Linked DNA regions of Homo sapiens: region 2 is linked to region 1. Evidence: promoter capture Hi-C in 16 types of primary human blood cells and fetal thymus (Javierre and others, 2016). All regions are on one chromosome and are shown on one strand. Each heading gives the region's core, a stretch centred on a gene start or on the middle of the fragment in contact. The rest is flanking DNA. Distances are from core to core; before and after follow the strand shown.

Region 1 (5,522 bases), core at 1,503-4,002:
GGGATTTGTACTTTTCTTTTTTTTTTTATAGATTGCCTGATTTATTTTACAATGACTATGCATTACTTTTAAAATCAGAAAAGAGTGGTAGGAGAGCAAATGCTGGAAAGATTTTCATGTGAAATGGTATGTTCAGATAAACAGATGATTATTTGGGGTAACATTAGTAATAAAATGCATTAAAATGTAGGAGGATTCTGGTGGTGGCTCTGGAGAGAATAGAATACTTCACCTTGTCTTGTAATAATAAAACCCTAAAAACAATATTTTTCCATTTGATTTTTTTTTTTTTTTTTTTGAGACGGAGTCTCGCCCTGTCGCCCAGGCTGGAGTACAGTGACGTAATCTCGGCTCACTCACTGCAAGCTCCACCTCCTGGGTTCACGCCATTCTCCTGCCTCAGCCACCCGAGTAGCTGGAACTACAGGCGCCTGCCAGCACACCAGGCTAATTTTTTGTATTTTTAGTAGAGATGGGGTTTCACCGTGTTAGCCAGGATGGTCTCGATCTCCTGACCTCATGATTCACCTGCCTCGGCCTCCCAAAGTGTTGGGATTACAGGCGTGAGCCACCCGCCTGGCCTCCATTTGATTTTTTATTGTTAGTTGACTCCTGTACTGTGAGCCATGCTAACTGTGTAGTCATTCCAATTTGGAATTTAAGGATATATCCAATGCCCATTGATCACTTTTCTTAATCGGAAATTTTTCTTTATCTAAAAAGAGGCCAAAAAGAACTTTAACTTACTTGTCATCTCACGTGGCAGAAATAAAATTACTAAGAGAAGAAATCTTCCCATTTGCATTATGACACTGCTCTTCCATGCCATCTTTAATGAGTTAAACTCAGATCTACTAAGGGAAAAATAGTGCAGTTGGTTTTGTACTTTGGTCTGCAATGAGTTCGTGAACCTTCCTTCTGTCTATTATGCATTTAAAGTGAAGTCCCAGATGAATCATCCCAGCTATAACGGTACTACTTCTAGCTTTTAATTAAACAACCCTGTCTGACTAAGTTCAAAGTACATTTAGTAGTAAGAAATTTTTTTTAAAAGCAACATAAAACCACAGGAAATAGGCTATGACAGATAGAGCAGCGTCAGGGTGCCCTGGGGAAGATGAAACCAGTCTTCCCTAGAGAAACTGATAGAATTTCATTTTAGCAGAATGAAACTTGTCTCATTCTCAGACAGTCCCTACTGAACAAAGTAATTCTTGTTCTGAAAGTTTTTCTTGGGTCATTTTTGTAAAGATGTTCTCTGATAATAGAGAGTTTTTGAGACTACTCCAAATCCCATAGATTCAAATGGTGTGTACGTAGAAAAGCCTCAATTGAAACATGGCCTCTAGTTTAAACCATGTTAATCTTGTCTTTCTCCCACTATTCTCTCTCTCTCTTCCCCTTGACCCAATGGACTAAAAATAATAAATAATAAAGGTGTCCTTTCTCCCTTCTTGCTTTTGCTTCAACTCTCCCTCTCCCTAAGATATTCTCCATTTCCATCTGGGAAAAAAACATATATTCATTACTTCCTTTCAAGAGTACTACTATAAATATAGCGAACCACATACGGAAAACTTTCTGCGCAACAGGGACTGTGCTAAACACTTTACATACATCATTTCAGTCACAATTAAGCCTCCTAACAACCCTCCTGAGGTCGTTTCTATAGATTTAAAGAGACTATGTAATTTGCCTGAGATCCCACAGACAGTAAATGTCAAGGTCGGGATTTGAACCCAGACTCCCAAGACCATGCTCTTAACCACCCTACTCTCAACCACCCTACTACCCAATCTACTGCCTAGATTAATATTCTTTTCCTTTAAGAAGCTGCTGTTAGGCTGGGTGCAGTGGCTCATGCCTGTAATCCCAGCACTTTAGGAGCTGAGGCAGGTGGATTACCTGAGGTCAGGAGTTTGAGACTAGCCTGACCAACATAGTGAAACCCCATCTCTACTAAAAATGCAAAAAAAAAAAAAAAAAATTAGCCAGGCATGGTGGCGAGCGCCTGTAATCCCAGCTACTCGGGAGGCTGAGGCAGGAGAATTGCTTGAACCTGGGAGGTGGAGGTTGCAGTGAGCCAAGATTATGCCACTGCACTCCAGCCTGGGCGACAGAGTGAGGCTCGGTCTCAAAAAATAAAAATAAAAAATAAAAAAATAAAAAAAAGCTGCTGTTAATCTTTTCCAGTCCCTGGCCACTGGGAGTTCTCTCCCCTTAACACCAGTATTAATTTACAAGAGCTGAAATATACCTATACCTACTCTACTCCTCCCCTGTCCCAGGCGTGCCCTGACAGGAGTAAGTTTCATTCATGCCAGGCTCACCCTTTCTGGCAGACAAGCCTGCATCAATCTTTTCGTAAGATGCAATTACTACTAATATTGATTCTTTTGTAATTTTAAATATTTGCCAAAAAGATTTCTATCACAGTGTTGTAACAGTGATTACTGCAGAATGTGGTCAATAGTAGAGTTTTCTCAAGCGCTCTGCACTACAAGTACTCAATAAAAACTGAGAGTGCAGGCTTCTTGCCAGACCTCACCCAGCCCTATTAAGGGGACAAATCTATGTCTTCTCTTTCCCTCCACTCCACCGAGACAGCAACTTTTCAAAATGTATTCCCCTCACTTGGCTTGTTTTTAATCTGTATGACTCTCTACTTTCTATATAAGACAGTCTTACCACTTACCTCTTGAGCTCTGAGAAGCTGACTTCCTTGGCCAACTGTTCCTCTGCCTGAAAACCCTAAATGCTTTCCCTGTTACAATCCTTTATAATACTTGAATTTGAACGCTTTATGACAGCAGGGTCAAATAAATAAGATAACTTGGGTTCAAAGTCTGTTTTTCTTTATGGAGTCTTAGAGAAGATAGTAATTGGGAAAGACATCTTCTTAAGATCTAAGTTTCTATGTCTACCTCGGTTACTAGGTGGGGCCGGATATTACTAACAGGGATGTGTTGTTCCAAGAAAGCTTGAACTTGTGCAAAAATCTGTAGCGCATCTCACTGAATATTGTCATATTTAAGTAAGATGGCTGCGTTTTGATCATCTAGCCTGGGGATTGTGAAGGGACGAGTCCAAAGAGAAGTTTGACTTTAACAGAGGTCAAAACATTGGAAGATTCTACACAACTTAAATAATGCTGGAAAAGTCTTAGTTACCACTAGTAACCCAAGCCCAGTGCATAAGCTGTACCAAGCCAGGCATGGCAGGGAGCCGTTTTTTTGTTGTTGTTGTTTGTTTTGTTTTTTGAGGCAGGGTTTCACTCTGTCACCCAGATTGGAATGCAATGGCACAATTGTGGCTGACTGAACCTCTGCTCCCAGCCTCCCAAGGAGCTAGGACTACTGGCGTGAGTCACCATGCCCAGCTAAACTTTGTTAATATATATATTTTTGGTAGAGATGAAATTTCGCCATGTTTCCTAGGCTGGTCTCTAACTCCCGGCCTTAAGCAATCTGCCCACCTTGGCCTAGGGAACAGTTTTATCCTCTTGAGGCTCTCACCTGATTGGGAGATCCTTGCATTACACTATGTTTATGGTATTGTTAACGATGCAAATTTTATCTGCCAAGTACTATTGTTCCCATTTACACAAAAATATAACAGAAGAATATTTATAGTTATCTACACATTTTAACACACTGCTGAAGCACACCAGCAATCTGCCTCTTACTAGCTATGTAACTTTGAAAAGTTATTTAACCTCCATGAGCCTCAGGATCTTCATCAATACAATGGAAATAGTAATAGTACCCTCCCTACGGAGTCACTGTGAGGATTAAATGAAATGAAGCATGTGAATCTGCCGCACAGTAAGCTCTTGGTAAACAGTAGCTCTTATTACTATTATTATTAATATAGGCTGAGCAGGGCATCCTAAATCAACACAACCTCACTATAGCATTGTTCAAGCAAAAATCAGAGCTAAGAGCAGCTCCTGTTGGCTGGGTTGCAAGCACCACCCAAACAGGTTTTGAGTTTGCCTCTCCAGGGATCCAAGATTGTCATTTTAAAATGAATTTAGCAATGGAGTGATGTTTTGGTTCTTGGTGCCTCCAAAATAGACCCTGAGACAGAGCTTTGAGTGCCAATAGTTTATTTAAAGGTGATCTCGGCCGGGCACGGTGAGTGGCTCACTCCCTTAATCCCAGCACTTTGGGAGGCCGAGGAGGGTGGATCATTTGAGGTCAGGAGTTCGAGACCAGCCTGGCCAATGTGATGAAACCCCGTCTCTACTAAAAATAGAAAAATTAGCCAGGCATGGTGGCGGGCGCCTGTAATCCCAGCTACTTGGGAGGCTGAGGTGGAAGAATCCCTTGAGGCTGGGAGGTGGAGGTTGTGTTGAGCCAAGATTGGACCACTGCATTCCAATCTGGGCGAGAGAGTGAGACCCTTCCTCAAAAAAAAAAAAAAAAAAAAGTGATCTCAGGAAGCATAGTAAGGAAGTAAGATAGGGAAGGGAGGAAACTAGTAAAGAATGTGTTAAAGATTACTACCGTGAGCAACTATATCCCTGGAGCTTTGGACAAGTTGTATTCTGTGCAGCATACCTCAGAATCAACTACTGATAGGGAAGGAAGCAACTTCTCTCCATCTCCGGCTGAGGGACACTCTCAAGGTGTTGACTCTCTGGCACTTTCAGCCTGCCCTGTGAGGGCAAAGTGTACTCTCTCAAGCTGGCCAACATGTCCAGGAAAAGATGCTCAGGAAGTCACTGGCTATATGGGAACTCTTTGCAGGTAACTTCTGGGTAGGCCAAGGATGTGTGAGTAGAGCACCACCAGCAACTTCTACAATTGGATATTAGGTGATATTAGGAAATAATGATTAATTATTATTAGTTGTGATCATGGTATTGCAGTTATGTAGAGAATGTTCTAATTCTCAAGGGATGCCTGCTGAAATATTTATGGGTCAAGTGTCATGATAATTGCAACTACCTTTCAAATGATTCAGCAAGAAAAGTAAACACATAAACACACAGCAAATATAGCAAATGTTAACATTTATTCAACTAAATAGGGGTCTATAGATCTTCATTGTACTATTGTTTCAACTTTTCTGTATGACATTTTTGTCATCAGAATGTTGGGGAAATGTATTCAGCAGATATTTATTGAGTATCTACCATGTGCTAAGTATTCTAAGTATTGAGGATGCCAGTTGCAGCCAAGCCAATATGGTGGCTTTGTCATGAATTAGGGAAAATATGGCTTCTCTAGTCACTCTACTGCCATCTGTGGAAAATTGTTATAATAACTCTACAAAGCTATGATGTCTATAAGATGAATGATGCTTCCAGCTTAATGCTTCCACCACTTAATGCTTCCATAACATTAAGTGGTGATACATAGATGAATAAAACAAGCTCTGCGCTTTTGAAGGTCTTACATCGTAGAGCAGAACGTTAATGATGATCAGGAGCCATGCAGAGTGGCCTCAGGTGCTGAGCAGGGACTTCAGATAAGAAAAATGGTATAATGGCGCCCCTGCTGGAGAGTCAAAGAATT
Region 2 (5,522 bases), core at 1,076-3,575, 98 kb after region 1:
GCTAAAGAGTTATATTCTGGGGCAGAATGTTCTGATTCCTTTCCCTGCCATCTTTATAATTTAGAAGGATCTTGAAAGAAGATAGGGGAAAGCAATATTCTTTTTCATAAAATTTCAAAAATTTTGATACTAATTTTTTTATTGAGGTGAAGTTTACATAATTCCAGTGGCGTTTAGTGCATTCATAGTGTTTTGCAACCACCCCCTCTATCTTGTTCCAAAACATTTTTATCTCCGCAAAAGGATACCCCACACCCATTTAACAGTGACTCCCCTTTCCCTTCTCCCCTCAACCTCTGGTAACCACCAATCTTTGTTCTGTCTCTAGGGATTTACCTATTCTGGATATTTCATAGAAATGGAATCCTATAACATGTGACCTTTCGTGTCTGGCTTCTTTCATTTAGCATAGTGTTTTCAAGGTTCACTCATGTTGTGGCATATATCAGTACTTCATTCCTTTCTATGGTTGAATAATAGTACATTGTATATACATATGTATATATCAATATCACATTTGCTTTATCCATTTACGTACTGATGGACATTTGGGTTGTTTTGACTTTTTGACTACAATGAAAAATGCTTCTATGCCCATTGGCATTCAAATATCTATTTGAGTTCCTGTTTTCTTTTCCCCGTGCCCCCCTTGTTTTGAAACAGAGTCTCACTCTGTTACCCAGGCTGGAGTGTAAGTGGTGTGATCATGGCTCACTGCAGCCTCAAACTCCTGAGCTCAGGCAGTCCTCCCACCTCAGCCTCCCAAGTAGCTGGAACTGCAGGCATGCACCACCACACCTGGCTTATTTTTAATTTTTTGTAGAGACAGGGTCTCCCAGTGTTGCCCAGGCTGATCTTGAACTCTTGGGCTCAAGCAATCCACCTGCCTGCCTTGGCCTCCCAAAGTGCTGAGATTATAGGTGTGAACTACTGTACGCAGCCCCTGTATTCAGTTCTTTTGGGTGTACACTTAGGAGTGAAATTGTCATATGATAATTCCATGTTAAGCTTTTTGAGGAATTGCCAAACTGTTTTCCACAGAGGCTGGACTATTTTACATTCCCGCCAGCAATGTATGAGGTTCCAGTTTCTTCATATCCTCACCACCACTTATTATTTTCTATTTTTATTATTATAGCTGTCCTAGTGGGTGAGAAGTAGGACCTCATTTTGGTTTTGGTGTGCATTTCCACAATAACTAATGATGCCGAGGATCTTTTCATGAGCTTGTTGGCCATTTATCTATCTTCTTTGGAGAAATATCTGTTCAAGTCCTTTGTCCAATTTTTAATTGAGTTTTTGTCTTTGTTGTTAAGTTGTAAGAGTTTTTAAATACTGGACACTGGACCCTTATCAGGCTTGCAAAACATTTTCCCCCATTCTATAGGTTGTCTTTTCTCTTTCTTATGTTCTTGATGCATAAAAGTTTTTGATTTTGATGGAATCCCGTATATCTGTTTTTTTCTTTTGTTGCTAGTCCTTTCCGTATTGATGCTAATTATTTTTTTGAGGTAGACTGTTTGGTAGAAGTACTATAAATCTTTTTTTGTGGCTTTAGAAAATTAGCCATTTGAAAGATATCTTCTCACTTATTCACTTTGAATTGAAGAAATTAGTGTAATTTTCATTTCTGTTGAGGAAATTCTGCTTGGCAAATTTTATTGTTTTCTCTTCTCTGGCAGTATTCTGAAAAGCTTTATGTTAATAATCCATCTTGAAACAGACAACATGATACATTTTCCTCTTTTCCCTTATAGGTTCTTTGGTGGTTAACTACCCTTTTGATGATGATGAACAAGGACTTGCCACATATAGTAAATCACCAGATGATGCTGTGTTCCAACAAATAGCACTTTCTTATTCCAAGGTAGGCTTGTCTTTGAATATAAAATGTTACAAAATTAATTCTTTTATTTAAAAATATGCTTTAAAGTCCTGCAAGACTCAGGTCAAGTGCTTCCATAGTTAATAAAGCATGACTTTTTCAGCTGTTTCCGAAAAATAGCTTTTTCTCCTGTTTCCCACCTCACTTTTGAATACACTACATGTCTTTCTCCATTGGCCTTTTATCTATGGTTTTAGCACAGTACCTGGAACATATACATGTCAATTTATTTCATTTGACAAATAAGTTATAAGCCCAGTAAAGTAGGCCAAGATAAGGGCTTAATGAATTATAGCTCTGGAGCCAAATCTTGCCCACCACCTGTTTTTGTAAATAAAATTGTATTGACACACAGCCACAGCTATATTTTTATATATTGTGTGTGGCTGCTTTCTCCTTCAACATTTCAAAGTAAGTCAGTATAATTTACTATATTAACAAACTAAAGAAGGAAAATCCAGTGATCAAAGGGCAAAGTTGGGTAGTTTCAACAAAGACTTTTGCATCTAAAAAGTCTGAAATATTTGCTTTCTGGTTTTTTACAGGAAAAAATTGCCAAACTTTAGTCTAAGGTATTTAAGATCCTGTAGTTACATATAGCAAGGAAAAGCAGGCAGAAATTTCTGTATTTTCCAAACTTCCTATGATAAACATGGATTACTCTTACAATCGGGAATGTTAAAATGTGTGTGTGTGTGAAAATTTAATTTAAAAATCGTTCTTAGGACCAGGCTTGGTGGCTCATGCCTGAAATCGTAGCACTTTGGTAGGGCAAGGCAGGAGAATTGCTTGAGCTCTCAGGAGTTTGAGACCAGACTGGGCAACATAGCAAGAGCTTGCCTCTACTAAAAATAAAAAATAAAAAAAAAATTAGCCGGTTGTGGTGACATGCATTTGTTGTTCCAGCTACTTAGGAGGCTGAGGTGGGAGGATTGCTCTATCCCAGGAGATTGAGGTTGAAGTGAGCTTGATCACAATACTATACTCTAGCCTGGGTGACAAAGCTGAGACCCTGTCTCAAAAAAATAAAAATTGTCTTAGAAAACATGTTAAAAGTTGAGGCTTGTAAACTAAGCTTGTTAGTTTCAATGTTTGGTGTTACTACTGACTTAGTATTGTTATTGGTTATATTGGTACTATTATTGGTTATAGGTAATGAATATTATTACTGTAACTCTGCACTCTCCAGTCACAGTCCTCCATCCTTCCACTTTTCCCATTCCCTCATCCTCTGCAAATGAATCTTGTGAGATTGTTCAGAGTTTCTACTAGAGGAGTACAGCTGTTCATTTCACCTTAGAGAATTATTGCTTTCTGTTTGGACATATATGTTTTTTTGAAGTACATACGTGGAGTAATAAGAGAATGTATAGTGTCCCAACCATCAAAATAAAAATTAAATGGCTGGATTTTGCATATTTTCTCATCACATTCTATGCTCATTCTCATGATTTCTGCTTTTCGCCTTCATTTTGGCTTCTAGTTCCTTATCTTCTCTTTGTTTTCTTAGACCATTAACCCTTTTGATTTGATTTACCTTTCTCTGTAGGGTAGACCCATGGACATACCTTTTCAATGATTCTCCTAAGGGTCTTGTACACCCCTTTGACATAACTGCTTTGCCCTCCAGTCCTCAGTAATTACCATTATCTCTTTTCTCCATACCAATATTACAAGTACAGCCTAGAGTGGTCACACTGTCACGGCAATTTGCTATAGTCCATATGTGTGCTCTCCAACTTCAGCTGAACCCTCAGTCCTACATGGCAACATTTCCTGTTTAGCTACTTGACTCCCTGGCTCAGTTCCCACTATGGTGATTCAGAGCCTTTATCCTCTATCTGAGCCTCCTGTTCCAGCTCTATCCCTCTTATTCATAGTAGATCACTTTGCATTGAACTCAAGTAGAACTTTGAGTAATCTGATGTGAGTTCACTAAGATTCTGTCTTCTCAATTGTTTCTCATGTGTGTCTTAACAATATTCTCCTCCATTTCTTGATCCCACTGCATTCTGCCTCCTCGAATCTTGTGTCTTCATATCTTATTTTATAAATGAGGAAGGTGATAATTAAACTCCCCAGTCTTCACTCACAGCCTTTTTTCTCTTGGTCAATAAGCAGCTCCTCTAAAAATATTGTCTTCTGCTAACCTTAGTAAGCCCCCATGAAGCTACCATTCAAAGTTTCTTTATTTTTACTCTTCAAAACTTCTCAAAAGTAGATAGTCTTGGGAGACATCTGAGCAGCCAAAGACAATGATGGCTATGTGATAACCTATCTCCCAGGGTTTTTCTTTAAACAATATAAAACGACTTAAAAACTACCAAATTTTACACAAAACCACACTGTTGGCATCACAAAAGATCCTGAAACTGCAAAATAACTGTAAATTTTTTAAAAATCAAGAAGTCTCAGCATGATCTATCATGCACCTACCCCACCTTCGCCCCACCACAAGGCTTTGTGGTGAGGTAAAACAGACCAAGAAAACTTACGGAGAAGACAGAAGTGGGTGCCAGTGAAGGGCAGCTGTGAAGGTAATTTGGAATGACCACCATACATCACATATGCACTAAATCCAAAAATACTAAAAGAGTAACTGGGCAGATTAGAGCTCTGGAATACAGGGAAGAGATTTCAAAATGCACACAACTTAAAGGATCTGGTGTGATTTAATGGGATAAGTACAATTTAAAAGGAGAGGATGGTTACAGGGAGATCTTCCAAACTCATAGCTTCTGGAGAAGGAAAAAAAGAGGCAAAGATAGAAATGAAGAAGTGCTCCTTGGCAATTAGATGGTGAATGGGAAAAGGAAAAAGTGGGGAGAAATGTAAGGTTTTACAAGACAGAAAAGAACTTTAAAATCAGAAGATTCTCAGCTCCACCCTTACCACCAAGACAAATAAATAACCACACTGAGGTACCTGGATTTTGCTAGACCGACAGAAAAGTGTACCATTAAGCTAGGAATAATATTAAATGCCCAATATCATAAAAATAAAGAGGAAAATAAAGTCCATGGAAAATGATTGCAGAAAATTAGGAAATGAAACTTCACATATAGACACTAAGGAGACCCTACCATTAGCAAAAAATAATCGAGAAGCAGAAGAAAACTGTTCAGTTGGCATTCTAAACAGATTAAGTATACCCAAATATACGTTGAGAATATGAGAAACTACCTCAACTCAGATAGTCAAAAAATAAAAACAGAGGCCAGGAAACAAAAAACAGGGATAAATAAAATAAAGTTTATAGGACTCAGGAAAAAAATGGAAGAAAAAGACAAAATTATCTCTGAAATGAAGAATAAATGACAAAAGTTAGGGAACTCATACATCCAATTTCAAACTTACTACAAAGCTACAGTAATTAAGACAGTGTGGTACTGGCATAAAGACAGACATATAGATCAATGAAATAGAACTGAGAACCCAGGAATAAATTCTTATGTTGATGGTCAGTTGATTTTTTTTTTTAGAAAAGGATGCCAAGACAATTCAATAGGCAAAGAATAGATTTTTTAAATAAATGGTGCTGGGACAATTGGATATTTATATGCAAAAGAATAAACTAGATACCTTCCTCACACCACACCCCAAAATTAGCTTAAAATAGGTCATAAACCTAAATATA

What was found. The method cuts DNA at HindIII sites, captures the fragments that hold promoters and counts their contacts. A CHiCAGO score of 5 or more calls a contact.
Region 2: a contact is called between a fragment that was not itself captured here and the fragment with the promoter of TMIGD1 in region 1, in 1 of 17 cell types (neutrophils). The highest score is 6.1, in neutrophils.

What each region holds. Positions count from the first base shown.
Region 1 is chr17:30,331,305-30,336,826 of GRCh38, forward strand. It overlaps TMIGD1 (transmembrane and immunoglobulin domain containing 1), which reads right to left and starts at 2,753. Exons shown (of 7, transcript NM_206832.3): 1 at 2,696-2,753; 2 at 748-854. The coding sequence starts at 829. The HindIII fragment of the contact is 5,890 bases long and covers 1-2,978 here.
Region 2 is chr17:30,430,015-30,435,536 of GRCh38, forward strand. It overlaps CPD (carboxypeptidase D), which reads left to right. Exons shown (of 21, transcript NM_001304.5): 8 at 1,758-1,867. Among named protein-coding and RNA genes, the nearest start is that of GOSR1, 45 kb to the right of the region's middle. The HindIII fragment of the contact is 1,266 bases long and covers 1,693-2,958 here.